Regions from separate parts of the Homo sapiens genome. Here region 1 is linked to region 2. Evidence: promoter capture Hi-C in human tissues and cell types (Jung and others, 2019). All regions are on one chromosome and are shown on one strand. The core of a region is centred on a gene start or on the middle of the fragment in contact, and the rest is flanking DNA. Distances in the headings are between cores, read along the strand shown.

Evidence for each region. Contacts are between HindIII fragments. The study calls those that stand out against the background at their distance.
Region 1: the fragment with the promoter of KCNJ10 here is called in contact with a fragment that was not itself captured in region 2 in 1 of the 25 tissues and cell types used here (lymphoblastoid cells).

Annotation. Positions count from the first base shown.
Region 1 is chr1:160,066,722-160,072,358 of GRCh38, reverse strand. It overlaps KCNJ10 (potassium inwardly rectifying channel subfamily J member 10), which reads left to right and starts at 2,199. Exons shown (of 2, transcript NM_002241.5): 1 at 2,199-2,337. RefSeq lists enhancers at 111-470, 2,648-2,817, a silencer at 2,008-2,237 and a cis regulatory region at 2,732. The HindIII fragment of the contact is 5,259 bases long and covers 1-5,109 here.
Region 2 is chr1:160,352,864-160,359,111 of GRCh38, reverse strand. It overlaps NCSTN (nicastrin), which reads right to left. Exons shown (of 17, transcript NM_015331.3): 9 at 6,121-6,225; 10 at 5,875-5,952; 11 at 4,822-4,994; 12 at 3,355-3,457; 13 at 3,154-3,249; 14 at 2,765-2,852; 15 at 2,358-2,512; 16 at 1,859-2,071; 17 at 163-963. The coding sequence ends at 841. Among named protein-coding and RNA genes, the nearest start is that of NHLH1, 11 kb to the left of the region's middle. The HindIII fragment of the contact is 8,042 bases long and covers 1-6,248 here.

The sequences.
Region 1 (5,637 bases), core at 950-3,449, 290 kb after region 2:
TTCTAGTGGTAACTTGTAATCTGGTTCCCACCTTGCTCACTCTTCTGAAATTGCTCTCAAATGTCACTAGAGACTTTGTCACTGCCAAACCCAATGCCTCTTCTCTCTGTACTTGTTGGCACTGTTAGAACCTCCTCCTTAACAGTCTCTCCTTCCTTAGCTCCATGACATCTCACTTTCTTTGTCTCCTTCCTGCCTGTCTGGTGGATTCTCTTTCACTCTTTGGGGGTCCTTCTTCTTCCCATCCCCTAAACATAGGTGTTCCTCACTCTCTGTGCCAGGCTCTCATTTCTCTGTGCAGTCTTTGTTGGGATCTACCCTGTTCTCATAGCTTCAACTCACACTGCCCTGGCAGCAATGACCTCCTTTCTCTCTCTGGTTCTGACCCCTCTCCACAGCTTCCAGCTCTGAACTCATCACTTCCTCTTCCCCCACCTCAGTCTCCTCACCAGGTGTGATCCCCCCCAGGCTCCCCTATGCCCGTGAATGACCTCGCAGTTCTGATCACCTGACTTGAGACTCTAGTATGATCTCTGAAGCTTCCCTCTTTTGCTCAACATGTCAAGTTGGCTTCAAACTTTTTTCATTTTCTTTTGATTTTTCTGTACTCCAATTCATTTTCTGTGTTCCACTTTTCACCATTGCCACGCTGATTTGGGCTGTCATCTCTTCATGCTTATATTATTGCAATTATTTTCTATCGTCTACTTGCCTACTATATCCACTTGGTTCAAACTATTTTGTCACCTCCCGATTAATTTTCCTAAAATGCCATAGCTTTCTCCTACTCCATCCTTCCCAAGAACCTTCAATTGCTCTCCGTAGCCTACAGAAACTCTGGCCTGACCACAAATCAGCACAACTCTGTGTTTCTTCCGGATGTTCCCCTTAACACAAACACTGCCTATGGTGCCTAACCTTTAGTCCCGTCCTTCCAGCTTCTCCAATGAGGCTATTTGAATGGACATTTACTTATCTTATGGCTTTTAGTGGTTAAACTAAGCTACATTCCTAGTTTCTTTCCTTTTTTTACCTGAATTTATAGCAATTCAATATGGTAACACTGGTTATTGATTAGCAGTTAAATGTTTATGATGATCAGAAATGAGGAAATAATTATATTCTTTTTAAATAAATGCTGGGGGTGGGGGTGAATTAAAACCTCTCAACACATAGATTCAGAAAATTAAAGAAATCTTTGGTGATGAAAGGGTTGAGAACCATCACCCTGCACTCTAATCTAGTAAATGGGACAGTTTGATGCTGTTTCCCAAGTGAACTTGTATTTTCACGTCTCCCCAGGACTCTGCTACGTTGTTCCCTCTGCCTTAAATGCAACAGAGTCCTGGGGACCATCTCTCAGCACCTGAATCTTCTGCTTCCTTTGGGACCCTAATCAGATGTTACCTCTTTCCTCCCACATCTGCTAGGAGCCCTCTGAGTAGAATGACCTCTCCCTTTTACAGCCTTCAGTACCTCCCGCACTTCGCTGAGGGTTCCGGCCTTATCTTTCCTTACAGAGAAAGCCGCTGCAGGTGGGCACCGTGTGCTGCGCGTCTCTCACCCAGCACCGCACCGGGGACTTAGGAGACGGTGAACAACACGGGAATTGTGCCCAAAGATACAGTCCTGTGGCTCAGGGAGCCCAGGCCTACTCCGCCCCAATCTCACTTCCAGGCGCCGCCTTCGGCGCTGCCTGCAGGGCCACTGGGCCGGTCCTGAATTCATTTCCACTTCGTTAACTCGGTCCCAGTCCCGCCCCCCGGCTCCAGCTCTCGTAACCCATCGCTGACAGGACCGCCTCCCTTTTCTTCCTTCTCCCTTCCCCTGTCACCCTGCCAGCTCAGCTCCTATCGTTTCGCATATCGTCTCTTCATCTCTCTTTCTCCCCGGGTCTGTCTGGGTCTCTGTCTTTGGATATTTCTCTCTGCGCCTGCAGCTGTCTGGGTCTCCGCTTCCTTGCCCCGCACGCCCCGCCCCCTGCCCAAGACCCTCCAATCTCGGCGGCTCGAGCCTGGCGCTCCACTCTCCCATTGGTCTGTTCGGAGCCCCCCGCCCCCGCCTGCCCGGCCCCCCTCCGGGCCCCTCCATTCACACAAAGTTTGGCTCCGGCGCTGCGGAGGGAGGGGGCGGCCCGGCCCGGCCCAGCTCTGCCCCCGGCCGGCCCGACCCCGGCCCCGGCCCCCGGACAAGCCCTTATCTGATCCCAGCTCCGGGTTTAAGAGTCCTGGCCCGGCCCGTCGCACAGCTCTGCTCCTAACTCCTGCCCGCCCCGTCCGTCCATCTGTCCCGCTGCCCCGCGGCCCATCCAAGGGGCCACTCCACCTCGGACCCAAGGTAAGACCCTGGCCCTGATGAAGGAGTTCTGCCGCCCCGGCCGGGTCCTGTCCCCCTAACTCTCCAGAGACATCGGGGTCCCAGATCCTCAGTCCCTACCCTGCCTGGCCTCAGCGGTACCACCGTCTTGTTCCCCTGCCTCCCGCCTTGGGCAGTCCCAAATGGAGCCTCCTGGGAAGGGCTCCCCACGAGGAAACTAGCCAGGCTGGTCACCTCAGCCCTTTCATCTAAGGAAGGGGCTTTCCCGATGCCCCCTCCCACTGGGCAGACCAGCAGTTGCATCCCTGCTCCTCTAGTTAATACAGTGACAACCACACATAACCAGGCACCCCATACACAGGCACAACAGACAGTGCGCCCTCCTCCCCATATGGACAGGTTACTCCCATCCCCAGCCCCTCCCCCACTCCCCATACAGTGACAATCACATAGTGACACCCATGATCGCTAGTTCCCACATGGGGAGAAAAACAGATACTGGCAGCTTAAACCGGGGAGCCACCAAAGCCTGGTGTGCTCCAGACCCCTGCCCACCCAATCTCTTCCTTCTATTCTGAGTGGCTCCCATTTTAAGACATCCCTCCTCATGGCCCCTCACCCTCACCCCAGCTGTTTCGCACTGGGATTTCCAGAAGGAAAGGAGCAGGGCCACTTCTGCTAGAGTGAGAAGGGCAGATTGGGTTCTATAAACTCACCCTCCAGATGGAGACGCCCCTTCCCATTCCATTCCTCCTCTCATCAGAACTAACCCAGGGCACCTGTGTTAGGGAACAGATGAAGGATGGAACTTCCTGATTTGGGGGAGGAGAGCTGAACCCAGGAATGGGTAGAAGGACAACACTGGGAAAAAGTGAGGGTGGGTTCTGGTGTCTTGAAGTTTAATTCCAGTGAGTGCCCCAGGCAGGGTGAGGCAGATGGGGAAGAAGCTGGTGCAGATTTGGACCCCAAAGAGGCCAGTGCTTAAAGCCTGCTTCTGTTGCTTACCAATACAAATTCTGACTAAAGATGTCTGGCCAGTCTGCTCTTGCTGTGGTGTTTGAATTTTTTTTCTCCCCACTGGGACTGCTTTAGGCTGCCTGGGTGGGAGGGAGATAATGACAGGAGATTTAGGGCCCCCATGTGAGAGATGGCCTTGTTTAAGGGTGCTGAGGAGGGCCTGGAGTGGTTGTCATGAAATTAGCCCCAGGAGGGGTGGGCAGCCACCAGTGAGTTCAATTTAGTTTCATCCTGAAACTCTCTCCCTAATCTCCAAGGATTTTTGAACATATTCCTGGCATGATGGTGGGTACCATCCTGTGCCAAGTGGTAGGGCTTGTAAATTTCTCTGGGGGTAGACTGGGTATAGGGGACCAAGTTTGGAAGGAACCAGGCATCCTGACTCATAGCTGGTTCTTCAGGGAGGAAGAAACGAGGGAGGAGGGGGATGGAAGGCATCATGCCAGGGAGAGGGTCCAGGGCTGGATTGTGGAGGCAATAGGCACGGCCCAGGCAGTGCCAACTCCTTTCCCCGCTGCCTTCCCCCAGTCCTTTGGTGGTGGTGGCAAGGGAGGAAGGGAGGGAGAGGGTGTTGGGGGGTGATCTGGGCTGGTCCAGCCTCCCAAAGCCCTTGCCAACCTGGGTCCTGAAAGGAGCTGCTGTTTTCTGAGCCATCCCCCCACCCCCCACTCAGAGCCTGAGCAGCCAAGTTGTCTCAGCGGATATCAAATGGCAATGACTCCACCGATGGAGGGTGGGTGGGGAGTGGGAGTGGCAGGGGTAGCAGGGTTATGGTTCCAGCCCCTCTGTGGCTCTAATGCAGAACCCCTCTGCTATCCCTTACCCTGAGGAAAAAATAAATCCATCTTCCCCAACATCTGACCCACATCCAGTCTATGGGTGCATATGTTTGTGTGAGGGGATTAATGATCTGCCCGCTGGTATCCCCTACCTCCTCCGTGTGCCCCATTGAACCACATTCTAGCTCCCTCCCACCTGCATCACTGTGCATAAGCTCATTTACAGCTCCAGCTTGGTTGGCTTGAGCTACAAGGAAGTGACTGGCAGAGGACCCGGGGACCTTCCTTCCCTTGACCTTCCTTGGGACCAGAGAGGCTGGGACACTTGGATCACGGTGGGCTCAGATGAAGTCCTCTGGAGTCATTCTGTGATTGGCAGGATAGGGGGTTTAAAGCTCTAGGGGGTGGGTCATGCAGAAAGATCTGTTTCCTCAAAGGATACTCCTGAGCCTCCTGGTAAAACTCTTGGTTTCTGCACACAAGATGGAAAGATAGGCCGAGCCTCCTGGCATTGGTGGGGAGGAAAAGAGACATTGGGCAATGGAGTCCCTAAGCTTTCCAGCCACAGGTTATTTAGGACGGAAGAAAAAAACCTCCACTCTCCCTCCCCTCCTCGGCCTAGATTCTTCTCTTGCCTGACTGGTCAGTGCTACTGTCCAGGCTGAGGCCAAGCTGTCCAGGATAGCAGTGGGGCCCTGGAAGGGGGCAGAGAAGGAATCAGCCAAGGCACATCGTTGAGATGAAACTACAGAAAGATTGGAGAGGAAAGGGAGATTTAAAATCTAAGTGTTTTAGCACCCAATGGTGGGTGGTTGGCTGGGCAGCTCCTGGGAATGGGAGTTTGCCATGTCACTTCGGTCTCTCCAGCAGGCTGAGTTCAATGCTTTTCTTCCCTCATTTGAGTTTAGCCTACATGTTTGCCACCATTCTTTAGGGAGAGAGTGCATCTGGTGGCCCCTCTTCCTCCCCTCCCCCATCAGAACCTTGAAAGGGCAAAGAGAAAGGGATTGTGGGAAATGCCCTCCCGTGGGTGTTTGCCAGCTTGGAGCCTGGATTTGAGGTGGTGGGGGAAGGGAGGGGCTGGCTCTGGAATGTGAGAGAGAAGTAAGAACAGAACTTTGTGGCATGGAGAAGGAGGTTGGAGAAGCAGGAGCTAGAAGAGGACTGAATCAGACCTCAAGCCTCCAACAAGGTGCAGCACAGAAAGGGTATACATGGCCATTGTGCAACTTTTCCGATGGCACAACACCTGGGGAAAGGATTGTGGCTGCAGCTAGAAGGACTTAGGTTAGATCTCAGGAAGCACATCCTAGAAAAGGAAAGACATTTGAAATGGAGACTGGGAAGGAAAGAGAGACCACTTTCTGGACCAAAAAAACCAACCAAAACAAAACAAAAACCACCAACAAAATCCCCAAACACAGAAGCCCATCCTTAAAGCTTCCGAGAGGAGTGATGGAGCTCAGAGTGCAGGGATTATTGTGACAACTGTCAGGGGCCTCCCCTGGGTGGCTGCTGCACCTCT
Region 2 (6,248 bases), core at 2,295-4,794:
CCAGGGCTCTGCAATTTGAAAGGACTTCAACTGTTTTTGACAGAGCCTTACTCCTTGGGTCCTCTGGAGCCCAAGATGATAGCATAAAAGATAACTTCATGACTTCCAGTCTAGGCTCGCTGAACAAGGTGGCCTGGGAAGAATAACTAGCAGTACAAGTCGTGTGGGATAATCTATTTTAATGAAACTCATTATATATATATTTACAAAAAGAATAAAGGAAAAAGACAAAAACAAAAATAGATATTACAGCTTAATAAAAAGTACAACTGAGCACTGTGGGCTGGAGGTGGGATACCCACCCGCAGCACGCCCACCCTAATGTGCCATCTGAGGGCCTGGAGAAAGGACAGTGGGAAGGAGACAGTAGGCTCAGCCCAGAGATGCCCCTGTCCTCAGGGGCTCAATGTAGTTTGACCCTGACATTAAACCTTTTATGTCCTTCCCAGTCAGGAAGGTGGCTGGGTACAGGGGTGGGGGTGAGGAGCAGAGAGAGGTACAGGGCAGGAAGGAAAAAGTAGAAGGGTCCTGAAGGGCAAATTAGGGTGGGTAACTAGGGAGTTAAACAGGAGCAAGAAGCTTCTATTTGTAATCCCAAAATCTGGCATGAGTAGAGAAGGAAGAGGAAATGGGGAAGGGGTGATGGGAAAGGGGAGCGGAGGAAGGGAGGCAATTTATTTATTTCTCCCTGTCTCTTTTGGATAGTTCCACTCTTTTATGTTAATCCCAATCTGAGACAGGCCCAGGGAGGTTCCAGTGACAAATTAGTGGTTGTGTCCCAGTGGGACAGATGCTCTAGGAAGTGAACTGCTGAGCTGGCAAGAAAAGCTGGGGTCCTCCTCAGTATGACACAGCTCCTGGCTCCCGGGGAGCAATGAAAAGGACATCAGCTTTGGCATTGATGCAGTAGGTGACGATGAGGGAGAAGATGAGGATGCCGAAGCCCACTGTCAGGGTGATCAACTGCAGGGGGAGGGAGGGCAGGAAAGGACAAAGGCATTCTCAGAACTCAGTGCAGTTTTTTGGATAACTGTTTGGGGTTTGGAGCCATGGGAATTCGGATGCTGGCTCTAAGCACCAACTATGGAATAATCATGGGCAACATCTCTCCAGCCTACAGACTTTGTCTCCCCATTTGAAAAGAGAAGTAAAGCATCTCTGTTCTTGCTTCCATCTTGTATTACTTAGATTTTAGGCATTTTGAAAGGAGGGCCCATGGCTTTGGTTCCCTTGCGGCACTTACATTACTGACTTGTGACAGGAGCTCGGTACATTAGACTGACTCATCCCAGCTGTGCCAGATGGGGAATGCCAGCCGGGAGTTGAAGCTGTGAAAGAGTTCTGGGATCCACAGGGGCTCTCCAGAATGAACACCTACTCAAACTATCTGTGAAGAAAGGCCTCCTGGCCGGGTGCAGTGGCTCACGCCTATAATCCCAGCACTTTGGGAGGCCAAGAAAGGTGGATCACCTGAGGTCAGGAGTTTAAGACTAGCCTGACCAACATGGTGAAACCCATCTCTACTAAAAATAAAAAAAAATTAGCTGGGTGTGGTGACACATGCCTGTAATCCCAGCTACTCGAAAGGCTGAGGCAGGAGAACTGCTTAAACCCAAGGGACGGAGGTTGCAGTAAGCTGAGATTGTGCCATTGCACTCCAGCTTGAGCAACAAGAATGAAACTCCATCTCAAAAAAAAGGCCTCCTAAGGGAACATGCTGGCTGACCAGGGACAGATTTGCAGTAGGCTTTTGCTACAAATGTGGGGCAAATGGGAGATGGAAAGGGCTATATGACACAAGAAAGCAGAGAAAGAAGTCAAACAGATCCCTGCCACCTATGCCCCTGCCCCATCTCACCTCAAGCTCTTTGCTGGCGATGAGAAATATCCGGGCACGGATATCTTTCCAGCGGCTCTCAGTCCATGTAGAGTATTCAGTAGAGCTCCACTGACTCAGTTCAAAGGCAGGAGACAAGGCCCTGGCTAATCGTGCAGTAGAACGCACACACCGGGGGAGTCGGTCCGTCTCATTAGAATGCAAAGGGCCCTGGACCCATGAGTACTCATACAGCTGCACAGAAGATGCGCCACAACACACGGCTAGGGTGATCCTCTTCTCACTCGTTCCCTCTACCCTCTATCAGTGCCATGCTCTAACCAATTGAGCTAACTGGCTGCTGTCCCTTTACCCTTCAGATGGTCCATTTTCACCCAGGCTTTTCAACACCCAATTGCTGAGGACTGCATCTCTCCACCTCTCCATCCCAATCCCCTGGGTCTAACTAGGTCTAGAAGAACCTCCAACTTTCCCAAGGGAAAGGGGCCCCAGGGCACTTCCAACACCCACCACCACTCACATCCTTGTTTTCACTTGGGACTTTACTTGGATCCTGGCACTGCTCTCGGGTGAGGTTGACCACTGTGCCAGTCAAATTTGCCAAGGCATACTGTACAACATAAGTGGTGTTGGTGGGGCTGGAGACAGCGATGTAATGTTGAAGAGGCCCGTCACCTGAGTGCAGACCAAAGGGAAGGGAAGATTTGGTGGGTGGATGGTGGGTGAAATAGGAAAAGCCCAAGATTGGCAGCAGCCAGAAAGAAGGGCAATGGAAAAGGATCCATCAAATATGAGAAGAAAGAAAGGAAAACAGGGGGTAAGAAAAACAGAGAGGAAAAAGAAAAAAAATAATAAAGGTTAAACCAAAAGACTTTTTCTCTATCCCTTTCCTCAGCTAAGGGTCCCATTCCCACACCAGATGCTTACCCAAGTAGGACCTTAGGTCCTGCCTGAGGATAGACTGGAACCATGAGTTGTTGGCTTTAATCAGGAACCCATAGAGCAGGCGGGTAACCTAGGATTGGAACAGTAAAGAGAGAAAACCCTGTGACTTGAAGGGAGCCCAGGGAAAGAATTATCAGTGGAGACCCAGTCATGGGGCAGGAACCAGACTGGCCAGATAGACTGGAGTTGGGAGACAGTAGCTGGCTCATAAGATGCAGATGAGGCCCACCCAAGAGCTCTCTGGGGCATGAGGCATTCTCACCGGCATCAACAGTCATGTGGAATTCCAAGGTTTGGGACACTAGGGCAAGGGAGGATAGGGACAGCTTGCTGTGTAAATAGAAAGAAGGAGCTAGGGCCCATCTGCTTACCGTTTGGGGATCAGCCTGAACTGTGTCGCTGAAGTTGGTTCCTCCTGCAAGCTCATACAGAGCACGTCCCAGCACCGTGGCCACATCTGCCAGGGCCTGTGGTAGGTGAGGAGGGGGCTGAATGGCCCACCTCTCCTATCCTCAAATGCTAGCATCTTCACTGTGTGCCCCAGGCTCCCACCCAGCCTGGCTCAGTGCTACCTTGGCAGTGTCTGTTACAAAGTTCAGGTCCTCTTCAGGGCTCAGCCATTCGGGATAGCTCACATTAATGTTCTCAGCAGTGTCGTAAATACTCTGGTAATATCTGCCAGGAAAGCCGGCATGAGCCTTGGCTACATTTAGCCAGGGCTCTGCCCCTTTCCTCCCTCAAATGCTCCTTATGCAGGGACTCAGTATCTCATTTTCAGCATCAGAAGAAAGGGGTGAGAGACAATCAGGATCCCATATTGCAGAAGGTGTGGAGAACAGGGAGGTAGGAGTGAGGGTGAGGTGGTTAGTGAAAATTAAAGACTTTCCTGACAGACAAGGTAGAAAAGCTGAATGAGCTCAGATCTTTAAACAAAGGAGAGACTCTTCTACATCATTTGGGCTGGAGATATGGGGGATGGCTAAGATGATTTTCAGAGAACTCTGCCATGTATCATGAGATCAGTTGTATAACTGTTCCAATGAACATTTATATTTAGGGTAGCTGGGAGCAGGAGGTGATTAGCAGGTCTTAGGATCAGGTCTGCTCACTGATATATAAGAATACACTGATAAAATCACCATGATGATCCTTATGGAGCCCCAAGGAGATAGATCTTAAAAGAGAGGCTGAGCTCCACAGTCTTTACCATCAGTAAATCCCTGTCCCACACAAAGTCAAGTCAGCTACATAATCAAATCCAAAATGTGTTCAAATGATGAATCTTCACTTGCCCCAAAGTGGTACAAGGATAGCTTTAGAGAAGACAGCTGACCCTAAGTGCTAGGACGGTCACTCCCCTAAATGAATGAGAAGGTGCTACTTGGCTGGGGTCAGAAATAGAGCTCAAGCATTTTCACTACGAAACTCATTTGGCCCTCGGGAAGCTTGGCAATCCAGCCTGAGTAAGAAGTCCCCTGTTATCCAAGGCCTCAAGTTAGGAGCAGTTAAAGGGTAACCCAGAGTTACCCTTTGTATCTCTGGAGCCCCATCAGCTATAGGAGGCACTTTTACCCTCGCACTGAACCATGGCCATCTACCACATGGCAAGAACATGGTACATTTCACAGAGTATGAATACTGTTTCTGGCACCTCTGGGTGAGTTCCAGAGAAGGACTGCTTTCTGTCTTCTAGCCAAAGGGCCCCCACCATCCTTCCCATGCTTGTGTTTGAGATGATGCCCTCTGCTGGCAACCCTGAGGAACTCAGGACCCTGGAGAGCTAGGGAGCAGTGGAACCATAACCAAGGATTGTTGACAGTAAAGGGCTAAGGGTGAGGATGAGTTTCTAAGATGAATATCCAGTCAAACAAATAAGGGTTTCAGTTCAGATGTGAAAACGCCACTGAGCAAAGAATACAGATGGACCTGAAGTTCTGGAGGGGGTAGTGTGGGAAAGCGGAGGGCAGTGACCTTCCTCCCAGACTGCAGAATAGACTCTCTTCAAGAATGAAGAGGGTGCAGGGCCAAGTGATTCTTACTTGTTATGGAAGGCACCAGAGTGGTCAGCCAGAACAACGCCAGAGATGTTTCGAGCTCGAAGAAATCGCTGCAGGGAAGATGGTGGGAGAGGCTGGGACTGATTTGGCCTCCTGAGGATGACAGCAGGGACACCAGCACCACTCTTCTCCAATGTGGCCAGGAGATCCTCCACCTGGGGGGTACGAGGGAGATTAACTGATGGGAGGCTGGGGGATGGGAAGCAGGAGGTCTCTTTTAGGCCTGAAATGCTCTATACTTCAAGTTCCCTGCTTGGGGAGCTACCCTATCTCTAGTAGACCTTTATCCCTCAAGCCTTTTGGGACCAAGGCTCTCTGAATTTCCTGTAGCTTCCACCATTCTTTTTAGAGTTAGAAAATTGGGGCATAAAGAAGAGACCTTTTTTTTCATATTTATAAGTAAATTCTACTGTCTTCAAGACTCTGCTTTATCCTCAGTGGATGCTTCACTTATTATTTATTGTGCAGAATTGAAGGGAGCAAATAATAATAGAAAACTGCGTGCTGAATGCCAAACAGATAACCAATTCTTTAAATGCTACAGGAGTCCAGAGCAGGGATGATGCTGAAGGCTGGAATTGCAGAAAGAGGACCACCTGGAAAAAAGCAGGCCTAAAGGTGGACCTAGAGGGAAGGGAAGGTTTTGAACAAGCAATGAGGAAAGTGGAGGACAAGTTGGGCAGCGAGTGTGACACAGCCAGGACTTGGGTAGAGCAGCCTTGACAATTGGATCCATGGGGCAGCAAGGCAAGAAGGGAGCTAGTCACTCACCTATCCTTAATGGGCAGTGGTAGTCTGCTAGGCAACAAATGATCAGAGAACTACCCAGTCCAGGGAACCAATGGAATGTCACTGAGTTCCTGATTCTTCCCAGCAGCAACAACAGCTGTGGTGTTCATCCTTTGGCCAACACCCAATCCAATCCTGTCTCTTACCCTGTCTCACAGGCCCTGGGGGTTGGTGGAAACAGGGCAGGGGTTGGGGTCTGGATTCTGAGCTGTAGGAATAGGAAATGAGGGGAGATGCTCAGGTTACCTGGTTCCGTACAGACTCATTTTTCTGAGAAACAGGATCTGTGTGCATCCAAAGCTCTAATGAAGTTCTTAAGGCCACCTGGGGGGAGGATGAAGAAACAACACTTAGAATCAGTCTCCTGTTCTGGGCCATGCCTAGGGGATAGAAGTCAAGGGAAGAGGCGGTGGTTCCTGCAGTTAAGACCGCAGAACAACAAAGGAGGAAGATTTAATTAAAAAGGAAGGGGCTGGGGGACATGCCACATACCTGTCCCAGCTCCACAAATGAGTCAACATTCTCTAACTGCACGGGAAACTTGCCCTTCTCCATATCGTAGACCATCCTCGAGCTGCCAATGTAGTCAAAAGTTTCCTGAGAGATGGAGGTAGGTGGGA